Regions from separate parts of the Homo sapiens genome. Here regions 1 and 3 are each linked to region 2. The links are contacts of gene promoters, found by promoter capture Hi-C in human tissues and cell types (Jung and others, 2019). All regions are on one chromosome and are shown on one strand. Each heading gives the region's core, a stretch centred on a gene start or on the middle of the fragment in contact. The rest is flanking DNA. Distances are from core to core; before and after follow the strand shown.

Region 1 (4,538 bases), core at 1,196-3,695, 38 kb before region 2:
GTAGACGGGTGTAGTAACAGGTCCTTGTAGTCCCAGCTACTCTGGAGGCTGAGGCAGGAGGATCACTTGAGTCCAGGAGTTCGAGGCTGCATAAGCTATAATCATACCACTGCACTTCAATCTGGGCAACAGAGTGAGAGTCTGTCTCTAAAAGAAAAAAAAAAGATCAATTACAAAGTTGTATTTCAGTCCAAAGTAAAATAAACCAAGAGAGAAGTTGTGGGATTCAAAATACAATGCTAAGCACAGGGATGAATAAAACATCACTAAATTTAATTAACAATAAAAAATAGTTAGCTGGGCACAGTGGCTCACACCTATAATACCAGCATTTTGGGAGGCCGAGGCAGAAAGATTGCTTGAGCCCAGGAGTTAAAGACAAGCCTGGGCAACATATCAAAACCCCATCTCTTCTTGCACTTTTTGTACAAAAAGCAGAAAAATTAGCAGGACGTGGGGGCTCGCATCTGTAGTCCCAGCTACTGGGGAGGCTAAAGTGGGAGGATCACTTGAGCTGAGGGAGGTTGAGGCTGCAGTGAGCTGAGGTCATGCCAGTGCATGATCCTGTCTGTCTCAAAAAAAAAAAAAAAAAGGAAAATAGCCATATTAAAATAATATAATTTCTGTGTTTAACAATATTGTTTTTAGATAAAAAGACTAAAATGGGAGTTATTCAACAAGTTCCTTTGTTAAAGAAGTTAGAAATACTAAATAACAAATTTTTAAATAAAATCATTCAAACAAAAGAATTATTAAGAATAAGAATGGATACTAAAATGAATATTAATATGTATTGCTTCCAAACCAGCAGATGATAATTCGGATTATAAGAAAATTAAGCCGGGCGTGGTGGCTCACATCTGTAATCCCAGCACTTTGGGAGGCTGAGGTAGGCGGATCACGAGGTCAGGAGTTCGAGACCAGCCTGGCCAACATGGAGAAACCTTGTCTCTACTAAAAACACAAAAATGAGTTGGACGTGGTGGCCTGTGCCTGCAGTCCCAGCTACTCGGGAGGCAGGGGCAGGCTTGAACCCAGGAGGCAGTGGTTACAGTGAGCAGAGATGGCGCCATTGCACTCCAGCCTGGGCGACAGAGCAAAACTCCATCTCAAAAAAAAAAAAGAAAAGAAAAAAGAAAACTAAAACTTTTATTCAACAAAAGATGGGATAAATAGAAAGATAACTTACAGTTTGGAAAATGATACCTGTACCACATGTAACTGTCAAGGCTCAGATTCTAGAATTTATAAACAACTGCTAAAACCCAAGATGAAAAAGTAACAAAGAGCTTCCACTGTATTTGTTATGCTTTATTGTTGTAAAAATATGGAAAGCATGTAGACCAAGACATCAGAATTTGATCAAGATGAGTGGTTGATGGATATACTGATGTCTGTTCTCATATCCTTTTCACTTTTCTGTATATTTTATTTTTTTGAGACAGAGTCTCACTTGACTCACTGCAACCTCCACCTCCTGGGTTCAAGCAATTCTCCTGCCTCAGCCTCCGGAATAGCTGGGACGACAGGTGTGCACCAACACGCCCGGCTAATTTTTGTGTTTTTCATAGAGATAGGGTTTCACCATGTTAGCCAGGCTGGTCTCAAACTCCTGACCTCAGGTGATCAACCTGCCTTCATCTCCCAAAGTGCTAGGATTACAGGCATGAGCCACCATGCCCAGCCTCCTTTTCTGTATATTTTAAATATTTCATAATATTATTTAAGAATTAGAAAGAACCATAAGCATTATAGCAGAATCAAATACATCCCCATTTGATTCCCATTTTTACCTTAATTACCATAGTAGACAGCAAGTGTGGTCACTGTCCCCCCACAACCATGGTCCCAGCGTTGAGACTAGCTGACAGAGATGGTGCAGACAGGGACCCTGGCGAACTCAGCTCTGCCAAGCAAAGATCTCCGACCCTCCACAGAGGAAGATTCCACATAAGTGGCAGGTGTGGTCCTCCAGCTGGCCTCACCCTGGGGAACCAGGGACAGGGACCCACTGGCTGCTGCATGGGGCTCACAGGGAAGGAAGAAAGACAATGCTGCCAACTGGAGCCCCCTTTCTGCTGGCTTCTCAGCACTGCTCACTCCCCAGCACCTCAAGACCTTTGGGCTAGAGATGTCAACACAAGGAAATCCAGTTCAGCAGTTAAGAGGAAGATCAGCAAACTGAAGTAGCATTCATGCCATGGGATGTTTCAGATCCACATTCTATACTGTTTCAGGGAATATAAGCTTCATAGACACAACATTTGTAGAAGTTGCTCCTTAAGCAACAACTTAACAGCAACTCCAATTTAAAACCAAAAAGCATGTCAATACAATCAGAGTGTTCAACTTAGCGCTGCCTAGCTTTCATATTGATCACAAAGCAGGTACTTTTTGGAGGGACCTCACAACATTTTGCTGAACGAAAAAAGCTCAATCTCAACCAGTAACACACTGTGTGATTCCATTTATATAACTTTTTTTTTTCCAAGACAAAGCCTTGCTCTGTCACCCAGGCTGGAGGGCAGTGTCACAATCATAGCTCACTACAGCCTCAAACTCCTGAGATCAAGGGATCCTTCTGTTTCAGCCTCCCTAGTAGCTGGGATTACAGGTGCATGCCACCACCACACCCAACATATATAATATTCTTGAAATGACAAAATTTTAGAGATGGAAAAGAGATTAAAGGTTGCTAGAGGTTAGGGACAGTGGCAGAGAGGCTGTAACTATACATAGGCAGTACGAGTGAGATCTTTGTGATGCTGGATAATAGTTACACAAGTCTACATATGTAATAAAATGGCATTGGCTGGGCATGGTGGCTCATGCCTATAATCTTTGGGAGCACTTTGGGAGGCTCAGTCAGGCAGATCACTTGAGGCCAGGAGTTCAAATCCAGCCTGACCAACATGGAGAAACCCTGTCTCTACAAAAAATACAAAAATGTGGCCCGGTGCAGTGGGTCATCTCTGTAATCCCAGCACTTTGGGAGGCCAAGATGGACAGATTGCTTGAGGTTAGGCGTTCAAGACCTGCCTAGCCAACATGGCGAAACCCCATATCTACTAATAGTACAAAAATCAGCCCGGCGTGGTGGCAGGTGTTTGTGGTCCCAGCTACTCAGGTGGCTGAGGCACGAGAATCACTGGAACCCAGGAGGCAGAGGTTGCAGTGAGCTGAGATAGTCCAACTGCACTCCGGGCTGGGCAACAGAGTGAAGCTGTGTCTCAAAAAAAAAAAAAAAAATTAGCCTGGCATGGTGCCGCACACCTGTAATCCCAGCTACTGGAGAGGCTGAGGCATGAGAATCGTTTTGAACCCGGGAGCAGAGGTTGCAGTGAGCCAAGATTATGCCACTGCACTCCAGCCTGGGTGACAGAGAGCGAGACTGTCTCAAAAAAAAAAAAAAGGTATAAAACTATACACATATTGTACCGTTGCACTGTAATTATATAAAATATACCCACTCGGGGAGACTGGCTAAAAGGTACTCTGTACTATGTTTGCAAGTTCTTGTGAATTTATAATTATTTTAAAATTAAAATTTAAGAAAAAAATCACTTACTTGTGTATAAAGTTAAATAAAATCTATAGATTAGGGATTGGCAAACTATGAACAATAGATCAAATCTGGCCCACCACCTATTTTTGTATGACCTGCAATCTGAGGATAATTTTTATATCTTTAAGTGGTTAAAAATTTTTTAAAAAGAATGTTTTGTGATACATGAAAATTATGTGAAGTTCAAATTTCAGAATCCATAGGAAAAGTTTTATTGGAACACATACATATCTATTCATTTACATATTATCTATACATTACTTCAGCAGAGTTGAGTTATTGCTTGCTATAGAATGAATGTTTGTGTCCCCTAAATATGTTGAAACCTAATTCCCAATGTGATGGTATTTGAAGGCAGGGTTTTTGGGAACTGATTAGGCCATGAAGGTGGAGTCTTAATAAACGAGATTAATGACCTTATAAAGGGACCTCAAAGAGCTCCCTCATCCCATCTGCCATGTGAGGACACAGTGAGAAGATAGCTATCTATGAACCATGAAGCAGGCACTAATAAGACATTGAATCTGCCAGCATCTTGATCTTGAACTTCCCAGCCTCCAGAACTGTGAGAAATAAATTTCTGTTGTTTATAAGCTACACAGACCACAGTCTTTGTTACAACAGCCTGAATAGAGTAAGACATTGCTACAGAAATCATATGGCCTACAAAGCCTAAATTACTTACAATCTAGCTATTTACAGAAAAATTTTGCCAATCCTTGCTATAGAACATTTAGGGACTTATTAATTCACTATTTTGAATAATGCTGAAATGAAAAATCTTTGTACTCATTTCTGTATACACATGTATAAGAATATCTCTAGGACAGAAACCAAGAAATGGAGGTATTTAAATTTTTAATACATATTGCCAAATCTTCCTTCAAAGATGGTGGTTGTAGGGAACAGCTTCTGGTAATGAAAGAGGAATTTGTGTCAGATTAACCCTCCTGCTGATAACATTTACAAAAAT
Region 2 (4,772 bases), core at 2,051-4,550:
CAGGGCAGGCAGTCCTCCAGGGGTCAGGTGTGTTGTGCATGGTCAGGGAAAAGCAGGGGCAAAAGCATCCAGTGAGCACAGGTGTCGGGGGTGATAGAGGCACACTATCTCAGGAGGGCTGTGGCTCTAGTCATTGCGACCAAAAGTGACCAGTGACTCCCTGTGACTGCAATCCTGGGCCAGAGTGCCCTCTCTCCCAGGCCCAGCCAGAAGGCTGGTGACACTAGGCCCAACAATAGCCCCACTTCATTGCAGGAAGGGCTAAGGTCTGGAGGGGCAGGAAGAGTAGAATGGAAGGCAGCCCCAGGCCCAGCCCAGCGCCACTCAAGACAGCTAACAGTCCAGGCAGGTACAGACTGGAAGCCCACCCAGACCACGGGGAACCAGGCCCTGCAGCTCATCTCACCTCACTCTGTCACCTGTGCCTTCCCAGGGAAAATATCTAAATCTTGGGCTTTCAGTGATGGGGGCTTTCTCTATTCCGCAGACGGTAAGAGTTCTAAGAGCCCTCTGCCAATCCTGGAGAACCCCCCAGATATCCCTATCCAGGCAGGTTAGGGGTTGATAGGGCCTACTGAGGTCCCAGATCACCCCATACCCCTGCCACCTCATCCTACACATGATGTGTAAAGTGGGACCTCTGTTCCCCACCCTACAACTGTGAGCAGAACCCCTTCCTCTGCTCCAGCACAGCCACTGCCATAGAGCAGCTCCCCATGAATACCAGCTAATGCCCTCCTGCCCAGACCGCCCAGCTTGTAAGCTGGGTGCAAGGACCACCCCACAAGGGGTCGCCCAGGCGGGAGGAGTCCCCTACCCCTGGACAGCTCAGGCCCCAGAAAATGTGCATTCTGGGGTATAACTGGCTTCCAAGTACTGCCCAGGCCAGGCCCTGAGCCAACGCTCCTGGTCAGGTGTGCTCAGCCAACACCTGTTGCACCCTTCTGCCTCACCCCTGCCATCAGCTCAACCATGTCACCAGAAACTCACTGGCTGGACTTTCCACAAAAGGTCAGGCCCCACCAGAGGGCAGGGCACAGCCCTCCTTCTAACTCACATGAGCCAGAGGAAAGGGGTGATGTCACCTCAATGGAGGGAGGACAGGCTCCTGGGGCAACCAGCAGCAAGCCTGAACAGAGAAAATTTTCAAAACAAAAAAGATTCCACTGCAGGGAGGAGGGAGGTGAGCTTGGGAGCCTCTGAGTGCCCCCAAGTTTCCCTCCCCAATGCTCAGCCCCTGAGGCTTCGGGTCATGTGGCCCAGCCCACGAGCCAGTGATGCCAAGCCCTAGAGCGCGGGGCACTTGGGGCCGGCTCCTCTGGGAGCAGCACCTCTCCAAGTGCCAGGCATGAGCTCTGGGGTCAGGCAGCCAGGGTCCCAACTCCTGTTCCACCTCTGACTATCCTAGAGGCCTGGGCAAAGAGAAGGTCGTGCCAGCCCAGCTGGCCACTAGGCCCAGGAGCTCCTGAAGCATCAGGGAGAATCTTCTAGAGCATCAAAAAGAATCCACAACCCAGGACGCTTTATCATCCCCAGTCTATGGCAAAGGAAACTAGATATCAAGACCATCGTCATGGGAATAAACATAATAGGCACCGTCAGGAGCACTGATTCTAGGACAGATACTGTGCTCATTTAATCCTCCCAACATCCCATGGGGTGGGCACTCATATCAGTTCCACTTTATAAACAGAGAAACTGAGGTGCAAGAGGCTAAGCTGGCTAATCTGGTGAGTGACAGGGCTGTGTGGGGTTCCAGCGACTGTGCCCTGATCACTGCAGTCAATATGTAAGCCAGATTTCTCTTAGCGATGCAGTTCCCATCAGCTGAGCCAGAGCTGCTCCCTCTGCCAGCGCCACTCCCACCCCCACAGGGGAATGGGGCAGTTTGGGCCAGATAGGGACAAAGTCTGGCTGTGTCCAGAATGGCCCGGTGCAGGAACACTGTTTTATAAACACTAAACAGTCTGGGTTGGCCACTGGGCACTGTTGTGACCTTGACCCAGCCTGGCAGGAGGGCAGCCTGCCACCCACCCCCACCTGCATCCCAGCAGGGCATGAGGGCTCAGTATCTAGAGCCAGAGCCCAAGCCAGCCCTACTAGTTCCTGCCCATACAGTCAAGGACAGCAACAAGGAGTGAGAGTCAGGTGCCCTGTGCAACCCCCTGCCCAGTCCAGACTCCAGCAGAGTTGCCCTGGGTATCTCTTGGGGGTCTCTTCTCTGAGGACAAGGTCACATAGCATCCCCAACCCAACCTCAGAACCTCAACCCAACCCCAGAAAACTGCCGACACCATGGCCACTAAGACTCCCACACACACAACCCTGTCTGGGGTGCCCTAGTGAGGACTACTCCCTAATGCACCCATTGCAGAGATCAGTAAACAGAGGCCGGGAAGGGTTCTCCCCAGAGGGCCCTCCAAGCTGGGCAGCAGCAGAGCCTGGATTCTCTCAGCAGCAGGTCTACTCTGACCCCACTTTCTGAGAAGCAGATGAGCTTTTGCTCAGCAACAAACCGCAATTCTATTTAGTTGGGGCCTGTTCCAAGACACTGGGGAGGGGCTGCTAGGGCCTGCTTGAGCCAGGTGGCCGAGGGGCGTCAAAGGGTCTCTCCGGTTCGGCGAATGCGTACTGCAGCCTGCTGTGGCCTCGGGATTACCCCGTCCCCCTCCCACATCTCCCGGGGGGCGGAAGAAGCGCATCCCATGCAAGCAGCGACCTCAGGCCATGCCGCCCTCTCTCAGGCCTCAGTTTTCTCATCTGTAATCGGAGACCGCGGTTAAAACCGTCTATTAGGCTCCTTGGTAGTCCGAAGCTGCCTATGGGTCCCGCCAGGTGCACAGCGCTGACCCTCCCCATCCCCCGCACAGCCCTCGCAGCTCCGGGCCCTCCCCTGGCCACGGAAGGCGCGGGGCAGTCTGAAGTCCTCGGGCTGGAGAAACCCACCGCGAGCACCCGCTCCTCTGCGCAGGACCCTGGACTAGCCGGGTGGTACGCGCGCGATGGGCTGGGGGTCCCGGGGGAGGCCACGGCCAGCCAAGGTCAGAGCCAAGGTCACAGTCTGTTCCTCCTCCCCCTCCCCCCGGCGGGGCCAGACTCAGGGCTGCGGGCAGCGGCGCCCCAGGACCCAGGAGAGAGGAGCTGTGGGGCCGGTCCCCAGGACGGCAGGAGAAGCAGCGGCGCAGGGACCGGGAGGGGGCGGGCCGCCGCGCTCACCGGGCGGGCGGGCCGGGTCCGCGCTGCAGCGAGGTCCGGAGGCTGCAGGTCAGGGGGCTGCGCGGAAGGGGTGCGCGCGCGCCGTGCCAATTACCTGGGTCACGTGACGCAGCCGCCCACGGGCGCGCGCCCCTGAGACTCCGCGCGTCGTGACGTCTCCATGGATGCCCCGCCCCGCTCCTGGCGCTGTCCACGGTGCTGGCGGCCCAGGCCCGAGGTCGCCCACGGCCGAAGGGGGGACTCCTCTCTGAGACCGCAGAACGGGGCTGAGGCCCTGAACCCCGTGTGCTCGTCCTAAAACTAGGACGAATGTACCAGACGACAAGCAGCCTTTGTGTGTAGGAGAGGATAGGTTTTGTTTTGTCGTCTGTAAAATGGGAATGCTATGAAAAGTTCCACTATCTTAGGGATGTTTTGAAAAAAAGATGAGATAATGCGTGAAAAGTGCTTACCCCAAATCTGATACACATTTTACCCATTCATCCTCCCACTGATGGTGACCCAGGCTGTCCTCACCACCCCGTGGCCACAAACAAGGCTGCAATGAACTTCTTCATACACATTCCCTTAGGATCCTGCGTGGAACTTTCTCTGGGATAGAGATCAACTTTCTAATTATTATCAGAATAGCAGATGCAATGTCCTGTTATTGTTTTAATCTGCATTTCTCTGGTTATCAACCATTTGCATCTCCCGTTGTTTGTTAGTTTGGGGTTTTCTGTTGTATTTTTTTCAGCTTTCTGTTGGGTTTTGTTCTCATTTAAATGCAGGGATTTCTTGTATAGGAACATAACATACCTGTGGTTCAAGTTGCCATCAAATCTCTCCTGGATTATCGCAGCAGCCTCCTAACTGGCTTCTCTGCTTCTACACTTACACTCTTGAATTTTAATCTCAAAACTACAGTATGCACTTCACAAGAATATATTCAAGTACATATCAAACCAATTAATATGGTTGCTTGTCGAGGGAGGAGGATGGGGAATGTGGATATGAGGTAATTAATCAATTACCCAGATCACTGCTGACAGAGTGCCACGAAGAAAGGAATACAACTAACTTCTGCACCTGAAGTCTCCCAAAAGTTCTTTATTTGGAGACAGTTAGGGATACATGTGGTCAAGAATCTTCAGCACTTAACACAGCACTATCATGGTATTTTTCAGTAAATATTTGTTGAATGAATGACTGAGTGAGTAAATGGACACTTGACTTGGATCCTGAAGGATGAGTAAGATTTTATCTGGTGCAGAAGGGCAGGGTTCATTGGGAATTCTTTGGACACAAGCACCAAAAATGACCTGGCTAGCTTCAGCCGAAAACGAGTTGATATGAAGGTTGTATATAAGGCAACTCACAGAATCAGAGGAAAGCTGAAAATTTACTTCAGGAAGCAGGGCTGAGCCATAGAGGAACTGTCTCTTCAAGGCTCTTCTGTTTTTCAAAATTCAAATTCCGGGTGAGAGGCAGTAATGTACTTGCAGTAGAGACGGAGTAAGGTGGCCAGATTTGAGAGACTTACGGGGATCAGCTCCACGGGGTTTAGTGGTTGACCA
Region 3 (4,714 bases), core at 615-3,114, 50 kb after region 2:
GCATTCGTTTTTATAAGCTCTACCAATCTGTCTTTTATATCTAATGTCCTTAGAGTTCATGTAACTACTACTGTATTAGGGCTTACAGTCTTCCACTTTTTAAATTAATAAACTTCACATTTTATAGTTTCAGGTTTACAGCAAAAGTGAGCAGAAATTACAGTTTCCATACATCTCGTTTCTGCACATACACAACCTATCAATATCCTGTGCTGCATTGGTACTTTTTTTTTTTTTTTTTTTTTACAATCAATGAACCTACATTTACACGTCATCACCTGAAGTTCATAGTTTACATTAGAGTTCACTTTTGGTGTTGTATATTCTATGGGTTTTTATAAATATAATGACATGTATCCCCACCATTGTAGTATCATACAGGACAGCTTCATTGCCCTAAAAATCTTCTGTGCTCCACCTATTCATCTCTCCCTCCCCACAAGCACTGGCAACCACTGATATTTTACTATCTTCATAATTTTGTCTCTTCCACTCTGTCATATAGTTGAACTATACAGTATGTAACCTTTTCAGATTGGCTTCTATCACTATTTAAATTTCCTTTGTGTCTTTTCATGGCTTGATAGCTCGCTTCTTTTTAGTACTGAATAATGTTCCATTGTTTGGATGTACCATAGTTTTTTGTTTGTTTGTTTTTGAGATGGAGTTTTGCTCTTGTTGCCCAGGCTGGAGTGCAGTGGCGCGATCTCAGCACACCACAACCTCCGCCTCCTGGGCTCAAGTGATTCTCCTGCCTCAGCCTCCTGAGTAGCTGGGATTATAGGAATGCGCCACCACGCCCAGCTAATTTTGTATTTTTAGTAGAGATGGGGTTTCTCCATGTTGGTCAGGCTGGTCTTGAACTCCTGACCTCAGGTGATCTGCCCACCTTGGCCTTCCAAAGTACTGGGATTATAGGCATGAGCCACTGTGCCCAGCCAGGATATACCATAGTTTCTTTATCCATTCATCTACTGAAGAACATGTTGGTTGCTTCCAAATTTTGGAAATGATTAACAAAGCTGCTATAAACATCTATGTATAGGTTTTTGTGTGAAGTTTTCAATTCATTTGGATAAATACTAAAGAGTATGAGTGCTGCATCATATGGTAAGATTATGTTTAGTTTTGTAAGAAAGTGTCAAACTGTTTTCCAAAATGGCTATAAAATTTTGCATTTTTACCAGCAATAAATGAGAGTTCTTGTTACTCCACATGCTTGCCAGCATTTAGTGTTGTCAGTGCTTTTGATTTCGGCCATTCTAATAGGTATGTAGTGGCATCTTGTTGTTTTAATTTGCAGTTTCCTAATAACACATTATTGTTGAATATCTTTTCATATGTTTACTTGTGATTTGTGTATCATTTTTGGTGAGATGTCTGTTCGGTATTTTGTTCTTTTTTTTTTTTTTTTTTTTTTTTTTTTGGAGATGGAGTCTCGCTCTGTCGCCTAAGCTGGAGTGCAGTGGTGCGATCATGGCTCACTGCAAGCTCCGCCTCCTGGGTTCACGCCATTCTCCTGCCTCAGCCTCCCAAGTAGCTGGGACTACAGGTGCCTGCCACCATGCCTGGCTAATTTTTTGTATTTTTAGTAGAGACGGGGTTTCACCATGTTAGCCAGGATGGTCTCAATCTCCTGACCTCATGATCCGCCCACCTCAGCCTCCCAAAGTGCTGGGATTACAGGCGTGAGCCACCGTGCCCGGCCGTTTTGTTCATTTTTAATTAGGTGTTCTTTCTCTTATTGTTAAGCTTTGAGTCCTTTCTGTATATTTTGGAGAACAGTTCATTATTAGATCTATCTTTTGCAAATATTTCCTCCCAGCCTATGACTTGTCTTTTCATTCCCTTAACTGTGTCTTTTGGAGAGAAGTTTTGAATTTTAATGAAGTCCAGTTTATCAATTATTTCCTTTATGTAGTGTGCCTTTGGTGTTGCATCTAAAAAGTCAACCGGGTTTTCTCCTATGTTGTCTTCTAGGGATTTTACAGTTTTGCATTGTACATCTAGGTCTATGATCAATTTTCAGTGAATTTTTGTGATGAGTGTAAGGTCTATATCTACATTTATTTTTTAACATGAGATATCCAGTTGTTCCAGCATCATTTGTTGAAAACACTGTCTTTGCTTCATTGTATGGCATTTCCTCCTTTGTCAAAAAATGAGTTGACTGTATTCATGTGGGTCTATTTCTGGGCCTCTATTCTATTCCATTGGTCTATTTATTTTTGCCAGTATGAATTACTGTAGCTTTATTTATCATCATTTTAGACCCAGTTGTTTAGTAAGTTTTGACGTCATGCCAAAGTCTTCCAACTTTGTTCTCCTTCAATACTGAGTTGGCTATTCTGGGTCTTTTGTCTCTCCATATAAAGTTTAGACTTAGTTCATCAATATCCATGAAATAATTTGCTGAGATTTTAATTGGGAATGTGTTGAATCTATAGATTAAGTAGGAAAAAACTGACATCTTGACAATATTGAGTCTTCTTGTCCATGAACATGGTTTAGTTCTTTGATATCTTTCATTGAAGTTAAGTAGTTTTCTTCATATACATCTTATACATATTTTGTTAGATTTACACCTAAGTATTTTATTTTGGCAGGGGGTAATGTAAATGGTAATGTGCTTTGAATTTCAAATTCCACTTAATTGCTGGTGTATAGAAAAGCAATAGACTTTTGTACATTATATTATATCCTGGGCAGGCGTGGTGGCTCACACTTGTAATCCCCGCACTTTGGGAGGCCAAGGCAGGTGGATCACTTGAGTCCAGGAGTCGACACCATCCTGGCCAACACGGCAAAACCCTGTCTCTACTAAGAACACAAAAAATTAACCGGGTGTGGTGGTGCATGCCTGTAGTCCCAGCTACCTGGCAGGCTGAGGTGGGAAGATCCCTTGAGCCCCTAAGGTGGAAGTTGCAATGAACTGAGATTGTGCCACTGCACTCCAGCCTGGGTGACAGAGTGGAACTCCATCTCAAACAAAACAAAACAAACCCAAAAACCATTGTATTCTGCAACCCTGCTGCAATTGTTTATCAGTTTCTTATTTGTCAATTCTACATGTCATCTGTGAACAAAGTATTTCCCTTTATTGTTGTATTGCACTAGCTAGGATTTCCAGTATGATGTTAAAAAACAGTGGTGATATGGGATATCCTTGCCTCATTCCTGATCTTAGCAGGAAAGCTTCACGTTTCTCACCGTTAAGTATGATGTTACCTGTAGGCTTTTTCTAAATGTTCGTGATAAAGTTTAGGAAGTTTTCTTTCTTTTTTCCCCCCAAAGATATCTTCCTAACATTCAAAGTTTTCTTTCTATTCCTAGTTTGCCAAAGGGTTTTTTTTTTTAAATCATGAATGTGTGTTGCATTTTGTCAAATGCTTTTTCTACATCTATTAATATGATCACATTATTTTTCTTCTTTAACCTGTTGATGTAATGGATTACATTAATTGACTTTTGAATGTTGAACCAGCCTTACATACCTAGTATAAATCCCACTTGGTTGCGTGTATAATTATCTTAATACACTTCTGGATTCAATTTGTTAATATTCTGTATGGGATTTTTACATCTATGCTCATAGGAAATATTAGCCTGTAGTTTCCTTTTCCTGTAATGTCTTTGTCTGGTTTCAGTATTAGGGTAATGCTGACCTCAGAGATTAAGAAGGATTCTCTCTGCTTCTATCTTCTGAATAACATAGAAAATTGGTATAAATTCTTTCTTAAATGTTTGGTAGGATTCACCAGAAATCTGGGTCAAATGCTGTTTCAAGGTCATTAATTATTGATTCATTATCTTTAAAAATCATAGGTCTAGTCATAGTGTAGCCATAAAATAGATTCTCTATTTCTTCTTATGTGATTTAAAGCAGATGTGTTTTTCAAGGAATTGGTCCATTTCTTCTAGCTTATTAAATTTGTGAACACAGTTGTTCATAATATTCCTTTATTATACTTTTAATGTCATGGGATATGTAGTCATGCCCTCTCTTTCATTTACTATTATTATTTTTTTTGAGAAGAATTCTCACTCTGTCACCAGGCTGAGGTGCAGTGGTGCAGTCTTGGCTCTCTGCAACCCCCACCTCCCGGAAGTGATTCTCCTGCCTCAGCCTTCCAAGTAGCTGGGACTATAGGCACGTGCCACTATGCCCAGCTAATTTTTATATTTTTAGTAGAGACTTGGTTTCACCACGTTGGCCACGATGGTCTCAATCTCCTGACCTCATGATTCGCCCACCTCGGCCTCCCAAAGTGCTGGGATTACAGGCATGAGCCACTGAGACTGGCCATTTTTTATATTAATAATTATATATCTTTACTTTTTTTTTTTAGTCTGGTTACAGACTTACTGATTTTATTGATCTTCTCAAAGAATAAGCTTTTGGTTTTTCTGACATTTTTTTTTCCCGGTTGTTCTCTTTTTTTCTTCCTGTGGGTTAATTGAACTTTTTTTTTTTTTTAATTCCATTTTGGCTTATCTGTAGGGTTTTTGAGTATATCTCTTTTCATAGCCTTTCTAGTGGTTGCTCTAGCTACTACATTGTATTATGTATAGCTTTTCATAGTCTACTGGCATCAACATTTTAATTGTTTGTGTGAGCCGAAACCTTACCTCTATGCCCCTTTTCTTTCCCACATTTATAACAATTATTTTCTCTGCATACAGTGAAAACCCCAATAGACATAATTATATTTTG

The links. The method cuts DNA at HindIII sites, captures the fragments that hold promoters and counts their contacts. A contact is called where the count stands out against the background at its distance.
Region 1: a fragment that was not itself captured here is called in contact with the fragment with the promoter of OGDHL in region 2 in 2 of the 25 tissues and cell types used here (spleen and stomach).
Region 3: a fragment that was not itself captured here is called in contact with the fragment with the promoter of OGDHL in region 2 in 3 of the 25 tissues and cell types used here (H1 embryonic stem cells, liver and stomach).

What each region holds. Positions count from the first base shown.
Region 1 is chr10:49,721,914-49,726,451 of GRCh38, forward strand. No RefSeq gene overlaps it. Among named protein-coding and RNA genes, the nearest start is that of OGDHL, 38 kb to the right of the region's middle. The HindIII fragment of the contact is 5,697 bases long and covers 1-4,538 here.
Region 2 is chr10:49,759,023-49,763,794 of GRCh38, forward strand. It overlaps OGDHL (oxoglutarate dehydrogenase L), which reads right to left and starts at 3,301. Exons shown (of 23, transcript NM_018245.3): 1 at 3,217-3,301. RefSeq lists a silencer at 3,052-3,261. The HindIII fragment of the contact is 26,824 bases long and covers 1-4,772 here.
Region 3 is chr10:49,810,207-49,814,920 of GRCh38, forward strand. No RefSeq gene overlaps it. Among named protein-coding and RNA genes, the nearest start is that of OGDHL, 50 kb to the left of the region's middle. The HindIII fragment of the contact is 3,861 bases long and covers 1-3,795 here.